Linked DNA regions of Homo sapiens: regions 1 and 2 are each linked to region 3. Evidence: promoter capture Hi-C in 16 types of primary human blood cells and fetal thymus (Javierre and others, 2016). All regions are on one chromosome and are shown on one strand. The core of a region is centred on a gene start or on the middle of the fragment in contact, and the rest is flanking DNA. Distances in the headings are between cores, read along the strand shown.

Region 1 (3,877 bases), core at 1,055-3,554, about 20 Mb after region 3:
ACCTAAATCAGGACTCTATTTCCATCTTCCAAGCTATCTTTCCCATATGTCCATCTCAGCAAATTATATACACTTAGCTGCTTGTTCACCTATGATTTCTTGTTCACTCATACCCCATGGCATGTCTGTTAGCTCTACTTTCAAATCATAAGATGAATACAGCATCTTCTTACCACCCCTCACCACTACCATCCCAATCCAAGCTACCTTCACTGCTAATCTAGACTTCTGAAATAGCCTGATAACTGATCTTCCTACTTCCAATCTTGCCCCTGTTTAGTATATTCTTCACAGAGCATCTACAGTGATCATTTAAAAACATATTTTTGATTATGGCTTTCAATCACTCTTGGAAAAGAAAAATCCAAATTTCTTACTATGATAAACAGAACCATATAAGACCTGGCCCCTGCTCAGCTCTAAATTCATATTTAGTTACTCTTCCCCACTCTGAATCTGCTCTGAGCTTTTCCAGTTCTTCAAACACACAAAGCTCACTTCTCTGCTGTGCTTGGAATTATTTTCTTCCAGATATTCACATGGCCTAAGCCTATACTGCACATCTCTGCACATATATTCTCTCTTCGAAGAGCCTTCCCTGGGCAGCCCACCTCAATTAAACCTGCCCAAACTCTATCTCTTTACCCTTCATAGGTTTCTTTCATAGCATGCATCATTATTTAATATTATATATTCATTTGTTTACAGTTTACTATGTATCTCTGCTACTACAATGTTAATTCCATTAGTGTAGGGAGGTTTTGGCCTTATTCACCAAGGCACTGATAACACTTGGCACAGAGTGAGCACTCGGTAAATATATGCTGAATATGTGAAAGACTGAACTTTTAGGCATTAGAAACAAGCACACATGTCAATGGAGAAAAGATAGGAAGCAATTGATTGCACTAGGAAAGAGCATTCCCTTTACTGAAATGGAGAGTAATACGAGGGGAAACAAAAACAAAGACAGGTGGTAAGTAGGAGCCAAGATGAGGTTCTTTTGATAGTTCATGCTCAGATGATCTGTTTTCTTCCCTGTCTTAACCTTTACTCCAAAGGCCTGAGGCCTCTGAGAGTAACTCCCTAAACAGCATGCAAAGCCTGTATATGCTCCCTCACCAGCTGGCCGTGACTGGCAATGAGGGCTTCCATCTGCCTGATGAACTCTCAACTCACCGGGGCACTGTCTTCCTGTCACATCCCTCGCCACCACGCAGGGCTCTTTCCCTTGCTCCAGTAAGGTAATCACATCTGGCTTTGAGCCAGAATATCCTGCTTACAAGAAAGAAATAAAAGAATATATAGAAATAAAACATTGCACATTCAGAAACATTTTGAGACTTGGTTAAATTTATATGGATCAACATGATTTCGATGAAGACTTCGGAAAAAACTGACAGGATTAAAGAATATTCAACTTAGTGTAACCTCAGGATCCCAGAGAATAAAGAAACTTGATGGGCAGGGGAATTAAAATTCATCTAGGAGAATTTTAATTCATTTTGGAATTAAAACTCATACAGACTGGCTCTATTGAGAGGCAGTAGTTATTGAGGGCATAGCCTCTGAAGCCAGACTATGTGGGTCCAAATTCTACTCTACTACCTATTGACTAATGATTGTAAACAAACTGGTTAAATTATTTGGGCCTCAGTTTTTTCATCTGTAAAATGAAAATAAAAGTAGTACCTTTTATTTTCTTTTTTTCTTTTGTATCTTGTAGCTAGTACTTAGAATGATGCCTGGTATATAGTAAGCACTCTATTAGCTATTATTATTTTTGTTGTTGTTAATTTACTTAGAGCAAAACAAGAAGCTTCCTAAAATATTTCTAGGTTCTTGCTAAGATATTCATTTAAAGTTAGATGCTAAGTTAATAAATTTTATTTTACTTTAACTAATTTCAACTTTTATTTTAGATACAGGGCCATACGTGCAGGTTTGTTACCTGGGGATATTGTGTGATGCTGAGGTTTGAGGTACATTTGATCCCACCACCCAGGTACTGAGCATAATGTCCAATAGGTAAAATTTTCAATCACAAATCAGTAAGAGAAAATATTTGTTTTAGGAAGTAGAATGCATTCACTTTAATTTTAAATCAATGTTATTGGTCTGAACCATGACATGTAAATTGTAGACCCTGGGTAGGGCTGTTATCCTTATAGGCATGTTACCAAATAACAGAGCATCCATAGCAATTCTGAGCTCAAATGCAATGTGAAACCTGATTTCATTGACATTGGCTTTGGAGTAAATGCCCCAAAATTCAAATCCAGTCTCTTAACTATTAAGGAAGAAGTAACTACAGTAATGGATTAAGGAACATTTCATGAGGCTCAGTGAGGTATGGTGAAAATGAAAGCATTTAGTGGAAGTGCCATTCACAAACCATCAAAGTTCAGTCCATTCCTTGAGGAAGAGAGAAGAAATTCAGCTAGTTTCTTAATAATTAGTCCTAAATTTGTGGAAGAGAAAGCTACTATTTCAGATAACAGAGTCTACATTATTTGACATAGGTGACCTTACCCAGTGAGACCAAGTTATTATAATTCTCCAACATCACATCTCTGTACAATTTCCTCTGGGTAGTGTCCAGGCACTCCCATTCCTTCTGAGAGAAGTCTATAGCCACATCCCTGAACGTCACCAATGCCTGAAACCATAAACCAACATATTACTGGTGAAATTACAGAACAAGTATTTTAAAAAGAAGAAAAGGAGATAAAAGGTTTCATTGCAGCAAGGGGTACTATACTAAACTCTAGGCTGGGGCTGAAAGCTTATGATAAAGATAGAAGAAAGGAACCAGGTGTTCTAAAGCAGAGTCACCTCATTTTCTTGAAGAATCCAGCCACTATATGCAAAATTTCCTGTATATTATGGGGTTCTTTAACTACTCAAAACATTTCTGGGAACAAATAAATGTTTCCCAATTCAATTAAACAGTGGATACAAGCAAATAAACTATATTTCTACCTCAAAAATTCTCAATAAATTATTACTTAATAATAAATACTTTAAGAAAAACCACTTAATACATAAAAAAGAATCCTATATCCTCTTTTTCCTTTAAGTTTATCTATCTATCTATCTATCTATCGATCAATCGATTGATCAATCGAGACGGAGATCTCACTCTGTTGCCCACGCTGGAGTACAGTGGTGAACTCAGAAGTTCGAGGCCATAGTACCTCACTGCAAATCTGGGAGAATACAATTAACTAATATTTATGTATCTGGATGATTTTCTTATAAGTACTACACACCTTCTTTTTTCTTGAGATTAAGAATATTGATGTAATGAACCAGAATCATACTGATGTCAAGACTAGCACATTCCGTTTAACCACAAAATGCGTCTTACTATGGGTTTTCACCTCAGAGATTCTCAGGAAAGATCCCCTGGCCTCTCTATAAGCAGGCCCCAACCACATACTGAAACTGAGGCCAATCAATATTAAACTGCATTTATCTACAGACACAGGATCTGTGGAAAACTGCAGTGCTTTCCTACGTGTAGTCAAATGATTCCATTCTTGGTTTCATTACACCTCAGATCTGACAAAGGATGGTAAAGTACCTCCCCCTCTAGGAACTTCATGTCTGTTCCATCTCTGCCCTAGACAGAGACTGAGTACCCTGAATGAGTTGGTCAATGTGCATGTGGATACTGGTTAGAAAAGAGAGGGGGCCCATGGGAGGAGCTTGGAAATGTGGGGATGAAGAAAAAATTCTTAGGAAGTGTCAGCATAAAGAGTGAAAATGTTCACATGATCTTTAAAAACAAAATAATCTAAAAAGGAAAGAGAAACTGTGACTTACATGGGCCATGGTTTTACACTCACAAGAACTGCTCAGTCTTCCGCAGGAT
Region 2 (3,635 bases), core at 984-3,483, about 21 Mb after region 3:
AGGTGAAGGTTGCAGTGAGCTGAGATCACGCTACTGCACTCCAACTTGGGTGACTGAGTGAAGACTCCATTTCAAAAAAAAAAAAACTGTCTGAGAAGCCCAATCTAAGAACTTTAACTTACATCAACAGGAGAAGCTAGAACACGTAGAGTTTGGGTTTTTTGTTTGTTTTCTGTTTGTTTTTCTTTAAGCAGAGCAAACAAGATCAGGACTTTTATAGCAATAAAGAAGGGAATGGATATTGGGTTAGCCACATATGTGGCAAAACAATTAACAGTATCTACAATTTAATATATTCTCAAATAGCTTTCAATTATGTAGGAAGTTAAAATATCACTTAAAACATGAGATACATTTCAATATGTGCATATACAAATATGTGTATGTATATTTATGTATATGCATATATATCTACATATGTATATAGGTAAAACCAAACTAAGCATACATGATAAACTGAACCATTTGCTATATTAATAAGACAAAATTAGGAAGATTTTTCCAAAGAGTAACAGAAGATTCCAGGTTACTTGATAAGTCCTTTTAGGCATTTGCTAAGAAAAAAAAAATCAGCCGGGCGCAGTGGCTCATGCCTGTAATCCCAGCACTTTGGGAGGCCGAGGTGGACGGTTCACAAGGTTAGGAGTTCAAGACAAGCCAGGCCAACATAGTGAAGCCCCGTCTCTACTAAAAATACAACAACAAAAAAATTACCCGGGCGTGGTGGCCGGCACCTGTAATCCTAGCTACTCGGTAGGCTGAGGAAGGAGAATCGCTTGAACCTGGGAGGCGGAGGTTGCAGTGAGCCGAGATCGCGCCACTGCACACCAGCCCGGGCGACAGTGCGAGACTCCATCTCAAAAAAAAAAAAAATCAGGTCCTGGAAAAATAAAGCATTTCAGGAACAAAGAGAAAACTTCAAGGCACCTTAAACATGGCTTTTAGATATCACAACCGTTATTTCCTCTCCTCTGGGGAACCTCTCTTGGAGGACAGAAATGAGAAGGGAGACAATACACCTCCCCTAGGGCCCAAATGACAAGGCCAGAGCTTACTCTGCGTTCCCCTCCCCCGCCATGGGAGGGCTATCAGAGGAAACTGGGGCTTCCAACTCAAAACTCAGTGTCATAGAAAAATCCCCTTTACTATCACGGGGCCGAGCTGTCTTCTGCTCTCACATATGACTATGTGTGACATTTGGTCAAAGACACACAAACACAGTCTCAACTCCACGCACACCCAATGCTTCACAGTCACACACCCACCACTGTACACAAAGTCACAAGCACCCACCCTCCATACTCCCACACAAGGACACAGAGTCACAACTACATAAGTACAAAGCTCCCTATATCTGCACACAAACGAACATATGGTCACAGAGTTACAATCACACACCCACCGCGGGCACACAGTCACAGCTAACCCACACCCTCACACAGCGTTACACAGTCACACAATAACAGTCCTAACACAGGGACTCACGGGACACCCGCAGAGTCCTCCCCACATCCGTACACAAGGTGTCACACACAATCACAATCACACACACACTGTGCTAGGACATACATTCACAAAAACACAATTTCACAACCGCCCTTCTCGGCGCGTTCCGCCTGAACAGACTTAATACTCAGTCTCAACCTCCGCACCGGATTCCAGACGCTTCACCTCCAACCTCCTCCTGATCCTGTAGTCTCCGAGCCGACCCGCTCAGAGGCCAGCACCTGGGTCGCGTGCAGCTCTCCCCCGAGCCGCGGGAGTCGCGAGGGGAGGGGCCGAGGGCGCGGCGCCTTCTGGGAAATGTAGTTCAGCGCCACGCCCGCGATGAGCAAGATGGCGCCCGGCTTGAGCCCAGCCAAAGGGATTACCCTCATTCCCGAACCGTGTCTGAGAGTCTCCTGGGGTTCCTGGCTTAGTATCGCACCGTGGCTGTTACATAAAGTCAGCACAGCGTGTTTAAGCTGATGTTACACCACTACCCAATCCCAGGGATAGAGTAAACTAAGACTAAGGCCTTACACCCCTGCCCCGGCCAGGGAGACAGTCCCACAAGCTCTGGCGGAGGAAAAGTTCGCGCGAAAAGCTGACTCAAACCGCTGAACCTTCTGGGAAATGTAGTCTACCCTCAAAAGAGTGGCACGGAGGACGGGCCAAGATCTCTCGATTCCGTCCGGTTCTGAGTCGGGGCCTGGCCCAGCCCAGGAGACCTCTGGGAGCGCTGCCCGCGGAAGGAGTGCGCAGGCGCGGAATCTCCGACTTGCCATGGTCGTCTTTGTCTGCCGGTGAGTTGGGTTTCGGCCCTGTGGGACTTGGGTTTCTGGACACTGAAACGGGCCAGGGACGCTGGAGGGGAGGATTTGCAGTGCCTGCGACGGGGCTGGGAGTATGGAGGGGAGGAATCGCCTTCTATGATGTGCGGTGATCCGAGCTTGTGTGGCTGGGGGCAGGGGTACAGTTCGGGTGGGTTCGCGGGTGGGTGACCGAGAGTGTGAGGGGGTGTTGAGGGTGCAGAGTTAGTGAGAAACTGGTTCCAAGTTTGTGAGGATGGACGGATGGCTTTGTGAGGTAGTAACCTCTAAGCCTCACTTTTCTCATTTCTAAAATAATAAAGATGCGTTTTCTGGAAAATAGGAAACGGAAAAGGCTAAGGAATTGAGCGGATAAGTAATTTTAAAGGTGATTTTTTATATAAAAGCAGACCTATTGTGGAGTAGAAAACAAAATCAGCATTACCTTTCCATTATTTTTTTAAAGAGGCAAGATTTCGGAAAAACTTGTTACTGGGTGCCTGTACACCCAGTAGGCATTGACTTTTCTTAATACTTTGGAGAAACTTTGGTGCAGTTGCTTGGAGAAACCCTGAACTAAGGAATATCTTTAAGAGGTAGTTTCCAATAGCGCAGACGGCACAGAATTTGGAAGCTACTTGTCCTGCCTTTAGCGCAGAGGTCAAGAAACTCCCTAGTTCGTCAGTGAGGGCAGCAATCTCACTCCTAATTTAATCAGGGTTTCCCCAGCCTTTTGTAAATATAGGGGAAATTCTTTTCTTGTGTATACAAAGATAGAAGTATCCTATCTTCAAGTATCTTGTCACACTTATTCTTAACATATCAACATATTCAAGTATCTTGTCACACTTATTCTTAACATATTTTTCAATAAAATAAAAAAGTAACAGGGTTAATAGTTTTGAAATATACAGAAAAAGTAAAAGATACAAAGAAGACAGGACTTAGTTTCTGCTTTTCCCCTAACTATTGGTGTTTCTAAGTTTCTGGCCTTGATCATCTAAGTACTCCTATCAGCAACAACATTACACTGCCATCCATGGCTTCATCTAATACAGATGACTAATAAATGTCTGTTTCTGCTGGAGGCTTGTCCTGAGCTCCTAATCCATATTATCTAATTGCCCAATGTGCAGTCCACCTGGAAGTTACAGGGAACTTCAAGCTCTTTATGTCTAAAGGGCTCCTTCTTCCTGCAGTCTGCCTCCATCTATTTCCCCTCTGTACCTGTTTCAGCAATTTATAGCACTGTCTAGCCAGGTTCTAAGGCACTTACATCTTAGAGAAGGCTTCTAAGTAAGTTTGATCCTTTGATTTGTTATATCCCATTACAAATTGTAAACC
Region 3 (3,790 bases), core at 1,140-3,639:
GTCAATTTTGGAATAGGTGTAGTGTGGTGCTGAAAAAAAATGTATATTCTGTTGATTTGGGGTGGAGAGTTCTGTAGATGTCTATTAGGTCCGCTTGGTGCAGAGCTGAGTTCAATTCCTCGATATCCTTGTTAACTTTCTGTCTTGTTGATCCGTCTAATGTTGACAGTGGGGTGTTAAAGTCTCCCATTATTATTGTGTGGGAGTTTAAGTCTCTTTGTAGGTCACTAAGGACTCGCTTTATGAATCTGGGTGCTCCCGTATTGGGTGCATATATATTTAGGATAGTTAGTTCTTCTTGTTGAATTGATCCCTTTACCATTATGTAATGGCCTTCTTTGTCTCTTTTGATCTTTGTTGGTTTAAAGTCTGTTTTATCCGAGAGTAGTATTGCAACCCCTGCCTTTTTTTGTTTTCCATTTGCTTGGTAGATCTTCCTCCATCCCTTTATTTTGAGCCTATGTGTGTCTCTGCATGTGAGATGGGTTTCCTGAATACAGCACACAGATGGGTCTTGACTGTTTATCCAATTTGCCAGTCTGTGCCTTTTAATTGGAGCATTGAGCCCATTTACATTTAAGGTTAGTATTGTTATGTGTGAATTTGATCCTGTCATTATGATGTTAGCTGGTTATTTTGCTCATTAGTTGATGCAGTTTCTTCCTAGCCTTGATGGTCTTTACAATTTGGCATGTTTTTGCAGTGGCTGGTACCAGTTGTTCCTTTCCATGTTTAGTGCTTCCTTCAGGAGCTCTTTTAGGGCAGGCCTGGTGGTGACAAAATCTCTCAGCATTTGCTTGTCTGTAAAGTATTTTATTTCTCCTTCACTTATGAAGCTTAGTTTGGCTGGATATGAAATTCCGGGTTGAAAATTCTTTTCTTTAAGACTGTTGCCTTCTTTAGAATATTTATTTAGGGTATTGTGACAAAGTCAAAAGGTGATGCAGGACAAAAATCATTATATGCAGGACATGTCCTGTATGTATAGGAATCTTGGAAATTTTATTAGTGATGTCTTTCATGCTACTAACACATTTGAAAAACACCTACTGAGAGCTCGTATGTGTTCCTTGGATGTGTATTTTAACAGTGAATTATCAAGACAGCACAACTTCACTGTTGATTTTTACCATTCTGATATCTTCTTTACAATTGCTCAGCATTTTCAGGAAAAAAGAGTCACATTTTGTTGACAAAGTGTGGTCAAGATCACAACACAACCATATGCTTAACTTCATTCTTTCACTTATACTTTAGTATTCAGGCTCAAACTTTACTGAGATCTTAACTTTGTCCATCTATCACAGATATTTCCTTAGAGCAATTTCTTTCATTATCTTCAAATAACTACGGAATCATTATTAATAGCTGTCAGGATTTTTCCCCCGGGGATAATCTCACCTCCTAACACAGACACCATACTTACAATGACAATGACAGGTTAAATGGTAATTGCACTGTGTTTTGCTGTGATGGAGACATCACTGATTACCCAGGCAGGAAGAGTTTTCTGAAGAAATCTGTCCACTGGTTTCAGGGAGACTCCACATCATCCCTCTTCCTTCTTCCACTCCAAGGCCTTGTTTGGAATATTTTCTCTTCCGTCTCTGACCAAACTGAAGCTCACAAAAGTTACTGTAAAGCTTGAGTGCACACATATTTAAAAAGCAACAAGGTAATAGTTATTAGCTTCTAGCTGTGAGTGTACGCAAAGAGACATTGTGGTGTGGTGTATCTATTTAGTTTTGCAGCTTTGGGGAACATCTGAAATGTCTCAACATTTCTGCGATCGGTGCATACTACACTCCAGGGAATCTAGGTCCAGGCCTTTTAAGAGGACAGAAGTCAGCCGGGCACCATGGCTCACTCCTGTAATCCCAGCACTTTGGGAGGCCGAAGCAGGCAAATCACAAAGTCAGGAGTTCGAGACCAGCCTGGCCAACATGGTGAAATCCCGTACTCTGCTAAAAGTACTAAAATTAGCCTGGCGTGGTGGCGGGCCCCTGTAGTCCCAATTACTTGGGAGGCTGAGGCAGGAGAATCGCTTGAACCCGGGAGGCGGAGGTTGCAGTCAGCCGAGATCGCGCCACTGCACTGCAGCCTGGGAGACAGAGCGAGACTCTGTCTCAAAAAAAAAAAAAAAAAAAAAAAAGAGGACGGAAGTCCTGTCAGCCCTTTGAAACTCGGGTTACTTTTCCCAAACAACTTGGCCCTCCTACTTCGAGTTTTCCCAAGAGCCCAGGCCGAGAATCCCCTGCCTTGAAGGATAGCTCAGTGGGAACCACACTCTACCCACAAACCTATACGTTGCATACCCAATGAGGGCCCAGGAGAGGGGTGTTTCAGTGCCTGCGGGGGGTGCGTGGGCGGGACTTCCGGCTCCTCCTTGTAGCGGACATTTTGTTTCTGTCAGGCTGTCCCTGGCCGGGGTTCTGTAACGCTTGTGTGGGCCGCAGGTGGAGGTGTTGGGAAAGCGCGGAGGAGATGTTGTCCCCAGTGTCCCGAGACGCGTCTGATGCTCTGCAGGGACGGAAGTGCCTGCGTCCCCGATCGAGACGCCTGCCGCTCCCGGCAGCTGTCCGCGCCCACGGTCCTATGGCGGAGCTAACGGACTCCGCGCGGGTGGGTGCTGCGTCCTCCGGGCCCTCAGTCACCCTTTCTCCGACTCCGAATCGTAAAGTGCCTGCAGCCCCTGTGTCCCAGGACAGCGACGCACTCTTGGGGCGGGGTCCTATCTCGGTGTGGGTGGGTGTGGGAGAGTTACGGGCGGAGGGGACGGCGCAGGTAAAGGCTCGGGGGTGCTGCTGACCCCCAAACATTTGGGAGACAGGGTTCTCATCAACACAGAGCAGAGTTTGAGGAACTGTGACTGGAATGGCAGGCTGAGAAGTTGTCGCTTCATTCTGAGGGCGTTGAGATTAACTGAGGGTTTTGAATAGAAGGACGTGATCTTAGCTGGGATTTTAAGTGTCTCGAAATTTGCTCAGGGGAGAACATTAGTTTGGGGTGGGGACTGCGAGGATGGATACGAGGAGACCGGTAAGGAGGCTACTGCAGTGGATTCCAGGAATGCTTTGGTGGTGGATGTACCAAGAGTAATGGCAGGTGAGTGGGTAGAAGTGATCATATTCTGGGTAGGTTTTAAATTTGAAACCAACAGGATTTTCTGCTCCATCATATGCAGCTATGACTGAAAGTAAGGCATGAAAGAGCAAGGTGTTTTTGTTGTTTTTCCATGAACGTTTGGATTTTGGAATGGTGACTTTGAGATGTCTCAGAGTGGAGGCTTCCTCACTTAGGCAACTAGAGAGGAAGGTCTGAAGTTGTGGGGAAGGGGCTGGGCTTAGAATATCTTTGGGGTGAAGGGAGCGGTCTGGAGTAGGTCAAGGCCAGGAGGTCAGATTTAAGTGGGGCAGTCTTAAGTATGTTATTTCATATCTCTGGGGTAAGAGATGAGAAGGCTGGGACTGCAGGGCAGGGAAGAGGGAGTGGGCATTCTTGAGACTCCCCCCAGAAGAGAAGGGTCCTGCCATTTGAAAGGGTTCTTTTCAGTGTTTGCAGGAGGAGAGAGCTGTAGGGTATGAGGAGTTTGGCCTGGGATGGCAACGATGGGTGGTGTGCTATTGCTACTATCTGATTATCTCACCCTCATTTTGTGTGTTTTCTTTTAGTTTTAGTTTATTTATTTTTTTTATTTTTTTTGAGACGAAGTCTCACTCTGTCGCCCAGGGTGGGATGCAGTGGCTTATTGCAACCTCTACCTCCCGGGTTCAAGAGATTCTCCCGCCTC

Evidence for each region. Contacts are between HindIII fragments. The CHiCAGO score rates a contact against its expected background, and 5 or more counts as called.
Region 1: a contact is called between a fragment that was not itself captured here and the fragment with the promoter of ZNF671 in region 3, in 1 of 17 cell types (non-activated CD4 T cells). The highest score is 9.6, in non-activated CD4 T cells.
Region 2: the fragment with the promoter of ZNF260 here is called in contact with the fragment with the promoter of ZNF671 in region 3 in 2 of 17 cell types (non-activated CD4 T cells and naive CD8 T cells); the score reaches 11.3 in non-activated CD4 T cells.

The regions. Positions count from the first base shown.
Region 1 is chr19:37,598,408-37,602,284 of GRCh38, reverse strand. It overlaps ZNF540 (zinc finger protein 540), which reads right to left. Exons shown (of 5, transcript NM_001172225.3): 2 at 3,829-3,877; 3 at 2,533-2,659; 4 at 1,180-1,275. The coding sequence starts at 3,837. Among named protein-coding and RNA genes, the nearest start is that of ZNF540, 5.5 kb to the right of the region's middle. The HindIII fragment of the contact is 966 bases long and covers 1,822-2,787 here.
Region 2 is chr19:36,526,869-36,530,503 of GRCh38, reverse strand. ZNF260 (zinc finger protein 260) reads left to right here and starts at 2,233. Exons shown (of 3, transcript NM_001166037.2): 1 at 2,233-2,285. RefSeq lists enhancers at 1,506-1,705, 1,517-2,225, 1,856-2,485, 2,226-2,936. The HindIII fragment of the contact is 4,591 bases long and covers 1-3,635 here.
Region 3 is chr19:57,726,223-57,730,012 of GRCh38, reverse strand. It overlaps ZNF671 (zinc finger protein 671), which reads left to right and starts at 2,389. Exons shown (of 4, transcript NM_024833.3): 1 at 2,389-2,622. The coding sequence starts at 2,485. RefSeq lists enhancers at 2,043-2,092, 2,233-2,672, 2,190-2,690 and a silencer at 2,011-2,236. The HindIII fragment of the contact is 7,103 bases long and covers 1,646-3,790 here.